Linked DNA regions of Homo sapiens: all the other regions are linked to region 3. The links are contacts of gene promoters, found by promoter capture Hi-C in blood cells and fetal thymus (Javierre and others, 2016). All regions are on one chromosome and are shown on one strand. Each heading gives the region's core, a stretch centred on a gene start or on the middle of the fragment in contact. The rest is flanking DNA. Distances are from core to core; before and after follow the strand shown. Region 1 overlaps LRRFIP1 (LRR binding FLII interacting protein 1). Region 2 overlaps LRRFIP1 (LRR binding FLII interacting protein 1). Region 3 holds the start of RAB17 (RAB17, member RAS oncogene family).

Region 1 (4,529 bases), core at 810-3,309, 170 kb after region 3:
TCTCAAAATTAAGTAACAATGTGGAGAGTACTATTTGGTTTTCCTCAGACACATATATATCTGTACCTATAAAGTGTGGCTTTTTAAACCGATTCTATGACAGAATTATCAAAAGATCAGAATGGTTGAGGCCGTCAAGTCAGTTGGCCATATTTGCAAGCCAACATCGACATCCTGGGCAGCATTCAGCGCTTTGAGGGTACGGGGTGCCTGTGGACAGCAGGTCCGTCTGTGTTGCCTTTTTCAAGCCACCGCTCGAGGTGGGCAGGCGGCCGTGGTAGTGGGTGTGGCGGTGCTGAGAGTCTGAGTATGCCCACCTTTGTCAGAGGGGATCCTCCTTTGTATGCCACGTGTTTGCTTCTGAAAGAATATAAAACTGGGGAATCCAGTAGATCAGAGGAATATTTTATACCATTTTCAATGATCTGATTTGTCATAATTTGTCATAAGAGTTGGCTTTGGGAGAAACCTTCAGATTCTGGCGTGCAGCCTGAAGTTGCAGCGTGCAAGTGAGGCCTCATCTGTCACTGGTCACCCTCTGCGTTCCAGTGTTTTACAAAGAGGCTGGAATAAGGTCAGGGTCCGTGACTTTTCATTTTAATGTAGAAGCTTTCATCTTATTTCTTTTTATTTATGGAAATGTAGACACCTCCAGGCCCCATCTTCTCAGGCCTCGCATTCCAGGGAGGTACCTCATTCATTATCTTTATGACTATTAAAGAAACACAGCTCTTTTCAATTGTGTAAAAAAAGTTGTGGCCTAGTGCAGTGGCTCACACTTCTAATCCCAGCGCTGCGGGTGGCCAAGGCTGGAGGATCACTTAAGACCAGGAATTCCAGGCCAGCCTGGCAACCTAGCAAGATTCCGTCTCTAGATAGGTATGTAGTATCTATATACCGTTGTTGAGAAAAGATAAATTAATCAATTTCCATCATACCTTTATATGAGCTACCCGAACAGCTAGGAATCTGATTACGCTGCTCTTACTCAAATACACATTTTATAAATCTTTGATAACCATTGTGAAATGTTGTAAGAACCAGAAATGTCAGTTTTGAAAGTGGCCTTCAAATGACTTTTGATCACATATTCCTTCAGCAAAGAATTGTAGGATCCAATATGTATGTTTATTTTAAATCTACATATGTATACTATTTCATTAATATAAAATGTACGTTATAAAATATATGCAAAGATATGCAAAGAAGTTTTAGAGTAAAACTCTAAATAGAATTCCTAATATTTCCCCCATTTTCCCTGGGATATGGGCACCCCACCATGGAGATCACTGGGCTATAAAATTATCTAGCTTTGACTTTCAGTAACATAGTACCATATCTAATCTGCTGGGGTTTTGTTTGGAGAGTCCAAAAATTCCAAAACAGTTTGATGTTCTTTAGACGATGAATAATTTATCATTTAATTTAGTGGTCATCTTGATCTTGAACATTTGCCTCCTGCTGGTCCTCTCTCCCTAGTCCCTTAGGGAATGGAGCAGAGGTATCAGGGCATGGACACAGGGTGTTTTCTCAGGAAAACAATAGTTGAGTGGCAGAAGATAGATTTCCTTTCATATGAGCTATTTCAAAAGCATCTTCCTTGAGACTGACCTTGAGGCTGCATTTCTAAAAGTGCACTGAATATTCTTTTTAAAAATTACTTGAAAGCTGCTTTTAGGGCTGTGTGACATGGAGTGCAGTTTGACAGCTGCAAAAGTACAAGTTGTCAAGTTGTTCATTGAGAAGTGAGAGTGGGGAATTGAACCTTCAGTCTGTTCCTAAACCCATCATTGTGGATTGTTTGGCTGCCTGATCCAGAGTTCTTTCTATTTGTTGAAACTTAACGTCACCTTTAAAAATCTGTCCACACAAGATGGCACCAGCAGCCACTCTGGCCTTTGATGTGGTGGCAGTGGCCCTCACTGACCCAAAATTTACTAATGCAACTGCTGCTTTGCCGCACAGAACTGGCAAAGGCTTGTTTCTCATGACTCTTTGATGACTCTGTCTTTAGGAATAGGGGTGGGTGGGATTTGGAACGTGTGTTTACATTCTAATGTAGATTATGTGGCCGCCACATCATGGGGTCCCTTCAATTTTCTCAATGGTCTTTTAGGAAGAGCCAGTGAAGTGGAGGTGAAAAATGAAATCGTGGCGAATGTGGGGAAAAGAGAAATCTTGCACAATACTGAGAAAGAACAACACACAGAGGACACAGTGAAGGACTGTGTGGACATAGAGGTATTCCCTGCTGGTGAGAATACCGAGGACCAGAAATCCTCTGAAGACACTGCCCCATTCCTAGGAACCTTAGCAGGTGCTACCTATGAGGAACAGGTTCAAAGCCAAATTCTTGAGAGCAGTTCTCTCCCTGAAAACACAGTACAGGTTGAGTCAAATGAGGTCATGGGTGCACCAGATGACAGGACCAGAACTCCCCTTGAGCCATCCAACTGTTGGAGTGACTTAGATGGTGGGAACCACACAGAGAATGTGGGAGAGGCAGCAGTGACTCAGGTTGAAGAGCAGGCAGGCACAGTGGCCTCGTGTCCTTTAGGGCATAGTGATGACACAGTTTATCATGATGACAAATGTATGGTAGAGGTCCCCCAAGAGTTAGAGACAAGCACAGGGCATAGTTTAGAGAAAGAATTCACCAACCAGGAAGCAGCTGAGCCCAAGGAGGTTCCAGCGCACAGTACAGAAGTAGGTAGGGATCACAACGAAGAAGAGGGTGAAGAAACAGGATTAAGGGACGAGAAACCAATCAAGACAGAAGTTCCTGGTTCTCCAGCAGGAACTGAGGGCAACTGTCAGGAAGCGACAGGTCCAAGTACAGTAGACACTCAAAATGAACCCTTAGATATGAAAGAGCCCGATGAAGAAAAGAGTGACCAACAGGGAGAGGCATTGGACTCATCGCAGAAGAAGACAAAGAACAAGAAAAAGAAAAACAAGAAGAAAAAATCCCCAGTACCCGTAGAAACCCTTAAAGATGTTAAAAAAGAGTTAACGTATCAGAACACAGATTTAAGTGAAATTAAGGAAGAAGAGCAGGTAAAGTCTACTGACAGAAAGTCAGCAGTGGAAGCCCAAAACGAGGTGACTGAAAATCCAAAACAGAAAATTGCAGCAGAAAGCAGTGAAAATGTTGATTGTCCGGAGAATCCTAAAATTAAGTTGGATGGAAAACTTGACCAAGAAGGTGATGATGTACAAACAGCAGCTGAGGAGGTACTAGCTGATGGAGACACATTAGATTTTGAGGATGACACCGTTCAATCATCAGGCCCGAGGGCTGGTGGTGAAGAATTAGATGAAGGTGTTGCAAAAGATAATGCTAAAATAGATGGTGCCACTCAAAGCAGTCCTGCAGAACCAAAGAGCGAAGACGCAGATCGCTGCACCCTGCCCGAACATGAAAGTCCCTCACAGGACATTAGTGATGCCTGTGAAGCAGAAAGTACAGAGAGGTGTGAGATGTCAGAACATCCAAGTCAGACCGTCAGGAAAGCTTTAGACAGCAATAGCCTAGAGAACGATGACTTGTCGGCACCAGGAAGAGAGCCAGGGCACTTCAATCCAGAAAGCAGAGAAGATACCAGAGGAGGGAATGAGAAGGGCAAAAGCAAAGAAGACTGTACCATGTCCTAAGCTGAGGCAGGCGGCAGGCGCGGTGCACAGGAAGTCTCAGTGTGAAGGGGTCTTTTCTCTCCACTGCCAATGTAAGTAGAATGTTCTAAATTCATAGAGAGGCACTGTATGACAATTACCAGGTGCTCTACTGCTTTAAGTTATAGACTGTTACTTGTAGATTTCCATGTAATCATTGAGGTTATCACCCAGATTAGAAAGACATATTTGTTATCAGTGTACGTTCTAATTGAGAGCATTCCAGTAGTATCAAACAATAATGTCTACTGTTTATAGTCCACTTAATAAAAATAGAGGCATTTACTATTTGCCTTAGGCTGATAGGAATGTGGGTTTTCTTGACCAAATATATCAGCATCTAATTGAAATGACCAAATAGCATTCTTAGACTTCTGTATTATGAATATAATTGATATTTAAATTAATGTCTTGTTCACATATGTGTACTTTCATATTTGATTTTAAAATGTACATTATAACCTGTATGGTATTTTATTTAAAGGAGATAAACAGCCAAATAGCAAATAGGTCACTGAATGATAAGATTTGCACCTTAGAACAATAATCATTTTAAGGATAACAAGTAAATGTCTGAAAGCATGAGGGGCTTTATTTGCCTTTACCTCATATGAGTCTTTGATCTTGAACCGATACTTTTGGATCTCATTGTTGATATACCTGAATTTACTTTGTAAGAGATTTTAACTTCACTTCATGCTGATGATGTATCAAATTCATTTTATAGAAAGATTTAAAGTTTTTTTCTGGAAGTGATATATGTCAAATTACATTTCCTACTGCAGTATTTGAGCAGGGACAGTCATTTTTTAAATGTTTTTGGCCGGGCGTGGTGGCTCATGCCTGTAATCTCAGTA
Region 2 (4,678 bases), core at 1,912-4,411, 190 kb after region 3:
ACCTCCACCTCCCAGGTTCAAGCCTCCCACCTCAGCCTCTCGAGTAGCCGGAAATACAGGCACCCACCATCATGCCTGGCTAATTTTTGTGTTTTTGTAGAGACGGGGTTTCTCCATGTTGGCCAGGCTGGTCTTGAACTCCTGACCTCAGGTGATCCTCCTGCCTTGGCCTCCCAAAGTGCTGGGATTACAGGCATGAGCCACCATGCCTGGCCCATTTAACCTTCTAGCCTACTTTTGCTATGGTCAGAGAACATGGTCCCTGTTATACCTGGTCTTTGAAATTTGTCAATACTTGCTTAATGGCCTGATACATGATTCACTTTTGTAAATGTCTCCAATGTGGTTAAGAAGAATGTGTAGTCTCTGATTTATGGATGCAAAATTCTGTATACTTCCACTGATCAAACTTGTGAAGTGTGCATTCAGATCTGATTTCTTTTGTCTGCTTAAATTCTCAGTAGCTGATAGAGATTTGTCAAGCTCTTCCAAAAGATGATGGTGGATTTATCTCATTCTCCCTATTTCTCCTATATATGTTGAGGCTATTGATACTAGATGTTTAAAATTCTGATATCTTCTTGATGAGTTAAACCTTTTATCACTTTGTAGTGACCCTTTTGGTCCCTGCTGCTGTTGACCTTGTCGGGTATTCACGTGGCCGCATCAGCTTTCTTTTGGTTAGTGTTTGTCCACTTCTGATTTTTGCATCCCTTGGCTTCCAGTCTTCCGTGTGTTGTTATGCGTTAGATGATCTCCTTCAGATGCACATAGCTAGGTGGCGGTGGCTCTTAGTTGAATCTGGAATCTGTGGATCTTAATAGAGCCCTTAGTCCATTGTTATTGGTATATTTGGACTCGTTTTCACCATCTGACTGTGGATAACCATTTGTTCTGTCTTTTGTGTGTCATTTTTCTCTTGCCAAATTTAAATTTTATATTCAATTTCTATTCTTTTCAGTGATCACACATGGGGTATTTTTATTTAACTTAAAAAAAAATTAAAGTTGAACACTATCTTTACTCCCCTCCTATAAAATAGAAGGACTTTTGAGCACTTTAGCTTCACCCTCCTGCCTGGCATGCACACCCTCACACATATGTGTATATGTGTATATGTATATGTACACATGTACATCCACACATAAATACTTTTGAGCTTCATAAATCCCACTTATCAGATAATACTATTGTTGTGTTGTTGTTGCTGTTGTTTTATATTGCCCATGTTTGTTTGACATAACTACATATTGGCCATTTTATATGTCTGTCCTGCTAGTGTCTCAGACTGTACTAGAATCATTTTCCTCCTCACTGAAGTACATACTGTAGAAATTCTTTTAGAGCAGACTTCTTGGTGGTGAATTCCCTGTTTTTGTTTGTACATGTTTTCGTTTCATCCTTGTTCTTGGACAGTAGTATTCAGGGACATGCAATTCTGTGTGGTGGTCATTTTCCTCAATGATTATAGCGATTATGCCACCATCTGCTGGCTTCCATTGAGCTGTTGAGAAAGTTGTTGTTTTAACGGTCGGTCCTTTGTAGGGACCTTTTTTTTTCTTCTCTAGTTTCTTTCAGGTTCTGTTTGTCTTTGATTTTCTACAGTTTTACTGTTAGATGTAGTTTATTGGAATCTTTCTGCTTGAGATATATAGTGTTTCTTGGATCTGTGAAGTCTTTTTAAAAATTGATTTTGGAAAATATTCAACCATTAACTCCTTAAATAATTCCTCTTTTTTAGTCTCTCCACTTTCCCCTCTGGAACTCTAATCAGAGGATGTTAGAGATTCTCATTGTCTCCACATTTTTTAACCATCTCTCTTTCATGTTTTCTATCTCCTTACCTCTCTCTATTGGATAATGCCTAAAGTTTTTGCAAAGATTTTCCAGTTCACCATTTTTTTTAAAAAGTGTCTTCATTGTTGATAGTTTCTTGCTGCATGTTCATGTATGTCCTCTTTTTAAATTGTATTCTTATTCTTTAAATATTTCATACACAGCTGTTTGGTTTTCTGTATCTGACAACTGAAACATGCTCAGTCTTTGGGGGTCTAATTCTGTCATTTATTGCTTCTGTTGACTCTCACTCAAATGGTTTGTCACCTTAGTGTTTTGTGAGCTTATGCTTGATTTTAATTTGTAGGAATAACTCCAGGCTTAACTTGTGGAAACTTCCTGCAAAAAGGGCTTGCTTCTGCCTCTGCTAGTGAGGTGGGGTCGGGACTTCTGTCCCAGGACCCAAACAAGCTTCCTTGAGTGTTTTGGGTCGAAAGCAGAGCCATAGACCCTGTTCTTGTCACCCCTCCAAAACCACGTTCTCCCAGCTTAGGGCACCCCACTCTGCCCTGCTGCCTGTGGGTCCAGATGATGCCCTGCTAATGTGGCTTCTGCAGCTCGTCTTCTGCCTGACTCTCAGGCTCCATGGCCCTGGCTCCCAGGTGTGGCCGTCTTGGCCTCAGGCATTCCTGCCTTGGACTCTGGCTGCCAGGGCTGTGGGGACCACCTTCGCCATGCAGTCCAGGCTCAGCTCTTGTTGTTTGTGTTTGTTTACCTCATGCCTCACTTACCTTTTGTGAAACCATCAGGATCCCCACTGGGCGTGTGGCTCACGCCTGTAATCCCAGCACTTTGGGAGGCCGAGGTGGGTAGATCACCTGAGGTCAGGAGTTCAAGACCAGCCTGACCAACATGGTGAAACCCCATCTCTAATAAAATACAAAAAATTAGCCAGGTGTGGTGGTGTGCACCTGTAGTCTCAGCTACTCAGGAGGCTGAGACAAGAGAATTGTTTGAACCCAGAAGGCGGAGGTTGCAGTGAGCCAAGATCACACCGTTATACTCTGGCCTGGGTGACAGAGCGAGACTTTGTCTCAAAAAAAAAAACAAACAAAAAAAGAGGCCGAGCGTGGTGGCTCATGCCTGTAATCCCAGCACTTTGGGAGGCCAAGGCGGACAGATCACGAGGTCAGGAGATCGAGACCATCCTGGCCAACATGGCAAAACCCCGTCTCTACTAAAATACAAAAAATTAACTGAGGGTGGTGGCGCACACCTGTAGTCCCGGGAGGCTGAGGCAGGGGAATCGCTTGAACCCGTGAGGCGGAGCTTGCAGTGAGCCGAGATCACGCCACTGCACTCCAGCCTGGGCGACTGAGCGAGATTCCATCTCAAGAAAAAAAAAAGAAAACCATCAGGATCCCCAAGGGTGTTCCCTCTCTGGAGTCCAGTTGTTTCAGAGGAGGAAGGGCATCATGAGGGACCAGGGGCCAAGTTATCATTTTATTTTTCAGTAGGATTGGAATTTCGGTAACACAGAACCCTGTTATGTTTGGAGGAAACAAGTTCCTTAAAGCTCACTGCCTTTCCTCCGTTCCCAGCTCCGCTCTGCATTGGATAAAACAGAAGAGCTCGAGGTGAGCAACGGCCACTTAGTGAAGCGTCTGGAAAAAATGAAAGCAAATCGGAGTGCACTCTTGTCCCAGCAGTAAATTCCAGCTCTGATCAGGCAACTGGTTGGTGACTGGAGAGCATTGTTTCATAGGCTTTTCTCTGTCCTATCTGGGAGCGCTGCTTCTTCCCCTGCCTTCCGAGAGACGAAGACCGTGGCGAGCTTGGCGCTTAGGGGCTCCCGTGCCATGGCTCACCCCAGGGAGCCCCAGCAGCCACCAGGTGCCTCTGTCTGCAGACCCCTGGCCCGGGCTGGCGCCGACGCTCAGAACCTGCAGGTACTTCATAAGCACACAGGGGCCTCGAGGGAGCTCTGTGTCTGACCGCACAGCAGCCTCTGAATGCCGCTGGAAGTGATGATCAAAGTAAAGATTCAGTTGGGACTTGAGTTTTTTTTTTTTTTCATGTGTCTTGCTGAAGATTAAGGGGAAATGTTACAGTGTTGGGACTTCCTTTCATGGCAGAATCTACAATTTGAGCGACTTCAGTAGTATCTCTTAGTCTACGCTTTTCATACACAAAACACTGTGGAACCACAAGCCATTACCAAGCAAAACTCTTTCACTGGAAACAAGGGGGCAGTCTAGAAGTAAAAGTGACCTTAAGAAGACTCTTTACAGGCAACAAATGAAGCTTTTCTAAGGGATTTTTGCATCAGTTCAGTCATAAGAATACTTTTTTCCAGGGTAATTAGGCAATAGCTTCACTGAAAATGACAGCTTTTCATTGCATTATTTAATCCTTATATTTGGAATTGAAGTCGTTAACTTCTTTTAAAGAATGTACTATTAGAAAAATTAAAAATGAAATGTTGAGAGACTTCAGCAATGTGGTTCTAATTTTTTTCCACTGAGAAAGAAGATCTTTAATTTCATATTAATGGTTCTGTATATTTTGGGTCATCTTTTTATTTTTTAAGAATATCAAGTCAATTCATTTTTCTTTCCCTATTTAAAAAAAAAGGTGTTTTCACAGAATGAGTGCACTTAAAAAGTGAAGTGAAGGAGGAGGTAACAGTAGAGACGATGGCAATATCATCAAGGACAAAAGTAAAAACGTTTAGCTACCTGCTGATTTTTAGTGACTGTTCATATATGTTGTATTTCAAGTATGGCTGGTGAAGCCAGTCAGCTTTTCGGGACGTTAGCAAGTGGAAACTGAGTCAGTATCATCCAAAACCATATCTAGTCTTAACACATGGAGAATGCTGGAGTGAGGGTTGTGAGTTCAG
Region 3 (2,700 bases), core at 201-2,700:
ACTCCACCCCCGTAATACAACCACAAATGGTATTTTTGCCTACTTCTAGTTTTTTTCTATGACTCCTAAAAACAAACCAAAACCCATAGTTTTAACATAAAATTATTATCCGATGGGTAAGAAATACTTAATACCAAAGGCAGTCTCACACATTGCTTCAAAATCATGTTTAATGGACATATAACATTTCTACAACTATCTCAACTTGCTGAACCATTTTCCTAATACTGGATTTTTACTTAGTTTTAATTTTTTCTCTGTAATAAGACTGCAGTAAACATTTTCTTATATAACTTTTTGTGTGATTGAGTGTTGTAAGCTTTCAATAATGAGAGGTTGGAGCCTTCTGTCCAAAGAGAAAATTAAAAGTGTGGCACCTGACCCCCACCTCCAGAATTTAATCAAGATGGGGTTATTAGTAGTGAAAGATGTTATTAGGTTGTTGAAGACAAAGATGTTTTCAGGAACACCATATTCAAGACTGGCGCTTCTCTAGTAATCTTAACTTGGGGCTTTTTAATCTCTTGCACCTCCCTTCCACTAAAGGGAAAAAAAACGGAGAGCAAATCCCACATTAGTCTTTTTTGCGGGGAAGGGGCCATTCCAGGGAAGGGTCTGATTGATGAGTCTATCGGCAACTGTGATCCTGTGTCACCCTTGCCTGGGGCCTGTGAAGAATATTGAGATTACGAGAGGTACACCTGTACATTGCATTCAGAATACAGCCATCTGATACAGAAAACACAATGTAGATTGTAAAAAGGAGTTTACAAGAAAACCTGACAAGCTTCCTAGATATCACTGGGTATTAAATTGGGAATGTTGATGTCATTTGAAATGGATTTCTTTAAGAGTTCTTCTCATTACCAGAAGTTTTTTGTGTTTTTTTTTTTCAAGACCTTAAAACCGGAACTTTCCCGAAGAAAAATGCAAATAAGAATCTCCTTCTGGGAATCCGACTTAGTGAGCCATCAGAAATCTGAACTAGGAAGTCTCCGCCCCAGCTTTGTCCTTTGATTATACACACATGGGCACATGCACAGACACAAACAAATACAGACATGGGTACAAACACGTGAGCACACACACAGACACACAGAGACTCACACACAGAGAAGCAGAGACACACACACACACAGGCAGACACTCCACAAAGGGCACAGAGGTTTAAACAATGACTCACCTGTTCCCCAGGCCCGGTCACTTGCAGGGAGCTGAAGAGCCTGTCATCACCAGTCCACAGCGTTGCTACCTGTCTCCGCTTTCTCCTCTCTCTGGTCCAGGGGAAGGTTTGCTTCCCTCCACAGGCAGGACAGGACAGGAGGAGCCTCTACTCCAATGGAAAACAGCCGCAGAGCAGAGGTCAAGAGCAGCAGCCTCGGACCAGAGCAATGCCCACTGGACCCCAGCGCCAAGGTCAGGCCTCTTCTCCTCCCAGAAGGTTTCAGGGCAAAGTCCACAGTGGTCATGTGGTCACCTGAGGCAGGGCAGGAGGCTGGACCTCAAAGCAGGTGACCCGGGAGCACCTGCGCGCTGCCGGAAGTCAAGTCACATTCCAGTCCTGCATTTCCTGGCACCCAACTGGAGCCCGTTTTTCAGCTTTATTCCGGGGTTTCACTTCCAGGATCTCACTTTGGCACAGAATGTTTTTCTTGGCTCCTTCCTTGGAGCTGTATGGAATCTTTGTTGCACTTGAAAAACCAACAGCCCAGAAGAGAAAAGAATATTCCGGTCAGATGAATTAATTCCTCCCACTGTCAGCTAGAAGCCATCCCTGGCTGAGCCCTGCACTGGCCAGAGGCAACTGAGTGTGAGCCAGTCCAGGGTCAGATCCTGGGCTGATGCCACCTGAGGGCGGGGTGGGGGCGTGGCCTCCGTGCACATGGGAGACTCCAGGTGCAGGAGAGGGGGAGGTGGACTTCCTCTTGGTCTTCCCAAGCCATGAAACTTCCTGGCTTGGTGGTAACAGAAGAGTCTCCTCCAGGTAAGATTTCCAGAGCCTCTGAGTATGGCTGGGGTAGCAGGGTTGGGCCTGAGGCTGAGGAGATGGAAATCTGTTGCCGTGAACATTACTCCACACAGCCAGTATACGGGAAGCCAGCTCACTTTATGTCCTCCAAACTCACCCTAACTTCTCGTTTGGGTCTCATCCCGCGGGGCTGCTGGGAAATAAGCTCCGCCACCACAGTGGTTCCTCCGCCCTGTGGGAGTGGGGGGCTCTTATGCTGGAGGGGGGACACTGGCCTGGACTTCTGCTGAGGCTCTGCCCCTCATCCCTGCAGGACGGACTAGCCAGTCCTAACACAGGACTAGCGTTGCTCTACCACGTCCAAGCCTCCTCTGAGATTCTTCCTCCATGCAACCACTTCCCCTGGGGCGTGGCCACCTCCCTGGAAGCCGCCAGCATGCTCGGCTGGGCCCCCGCACTCTGGAGGCTTGAGAATCTCTCTATTTTTGAATGACGTCCTTATCCTCTGCCCCCAGGCTGGTAACCAAAGGTCTGGGGGTGGTGACGTGCTGGGAATGGTGTAACTCGTGAGATGGAGGCTGAATGTGGAAATACATGAATGTGCTTCTCTTCTCTCCAGTTCCCTTGAAGAATCCACCTTCCTGCAGGGTTGGGGGAGCGCAGAATGGGAGGAAGATACAAATACCAATTTTATAGCAAGAATGCAAAAAGAGGCCAGCGCGGTGGCTCGA

The links. The method cuts DNA at HindIII sites, captures the fragments that hold promoters and counts their contacts. A CHiCAGO score of 5 or more calls a contact.
Region 1: a fragment that was not itself captured here is called in contact with the fragment with the promoter of RAB17 in region 3 in 1 of 17 cell types (naive B cells); the score reaches 5.0 in naive B cells.
Region 2: a fragment that was not itself captured here is called in contact with the fragment with the promoter of RAB17 in region 3 in 1 of 17 cell types (endothelial precursors); the score reaches 6.6 in endothelial precursors.

Annotation. Positions count from the first base shown.
Region 1 is chr2:237,760,487-237,765,015 of GRCh38, forward strand. The region is part of intron 19 of LRRFIP1 (LRR binding FLII interacting protein 1); the gene reads left to right. Among named protein-coding and RNA genes, the nearest start is that of RBM44, 36 kb to the right of the region's middle. RefSeq lists a silencer at 1,943-2,155. The HindIII fragment of the contact is 2,905 bases long and covers 608-3,512 here.
Region 2 is chr2:237,776,045-237,780,722 of GRCh38, forward strand. LRRFIP1 (LRR binding FLII interacting protein 1) reads left to right here. Exons shown (of 24, transcript NM_001137550.2): 24 at 3,378-4,678. The coding sequence ends at 3,488. Among named protein-coding and RNA genes, the nearest start is that of RBM44, 20 kb to the right of the region's middle. The HindIII fragment of the contact is 1,833 bases long and covers 2,246-4,078 here.
Region 3 is chr2:237,589,284-237,591,983 of GRCh38, forward strand. It overlaps RAB17 (RAB17, member RAS oncogene family), which reads right to left and starts at 1,451. Exons shown (of 6, transcript NM_022449.4): 1 at 1,184-1,451. RAB17-DT (RAB17 divergent transcript) reads left to right here and starts at 1,877. Exons shown (of 3, transcript NR_187201.1): 1 at 1,877-1,984; 2 at 2,589-2,700. The HindIII fragment of the contact is 11,150 bases long and covers 786-2,700 here.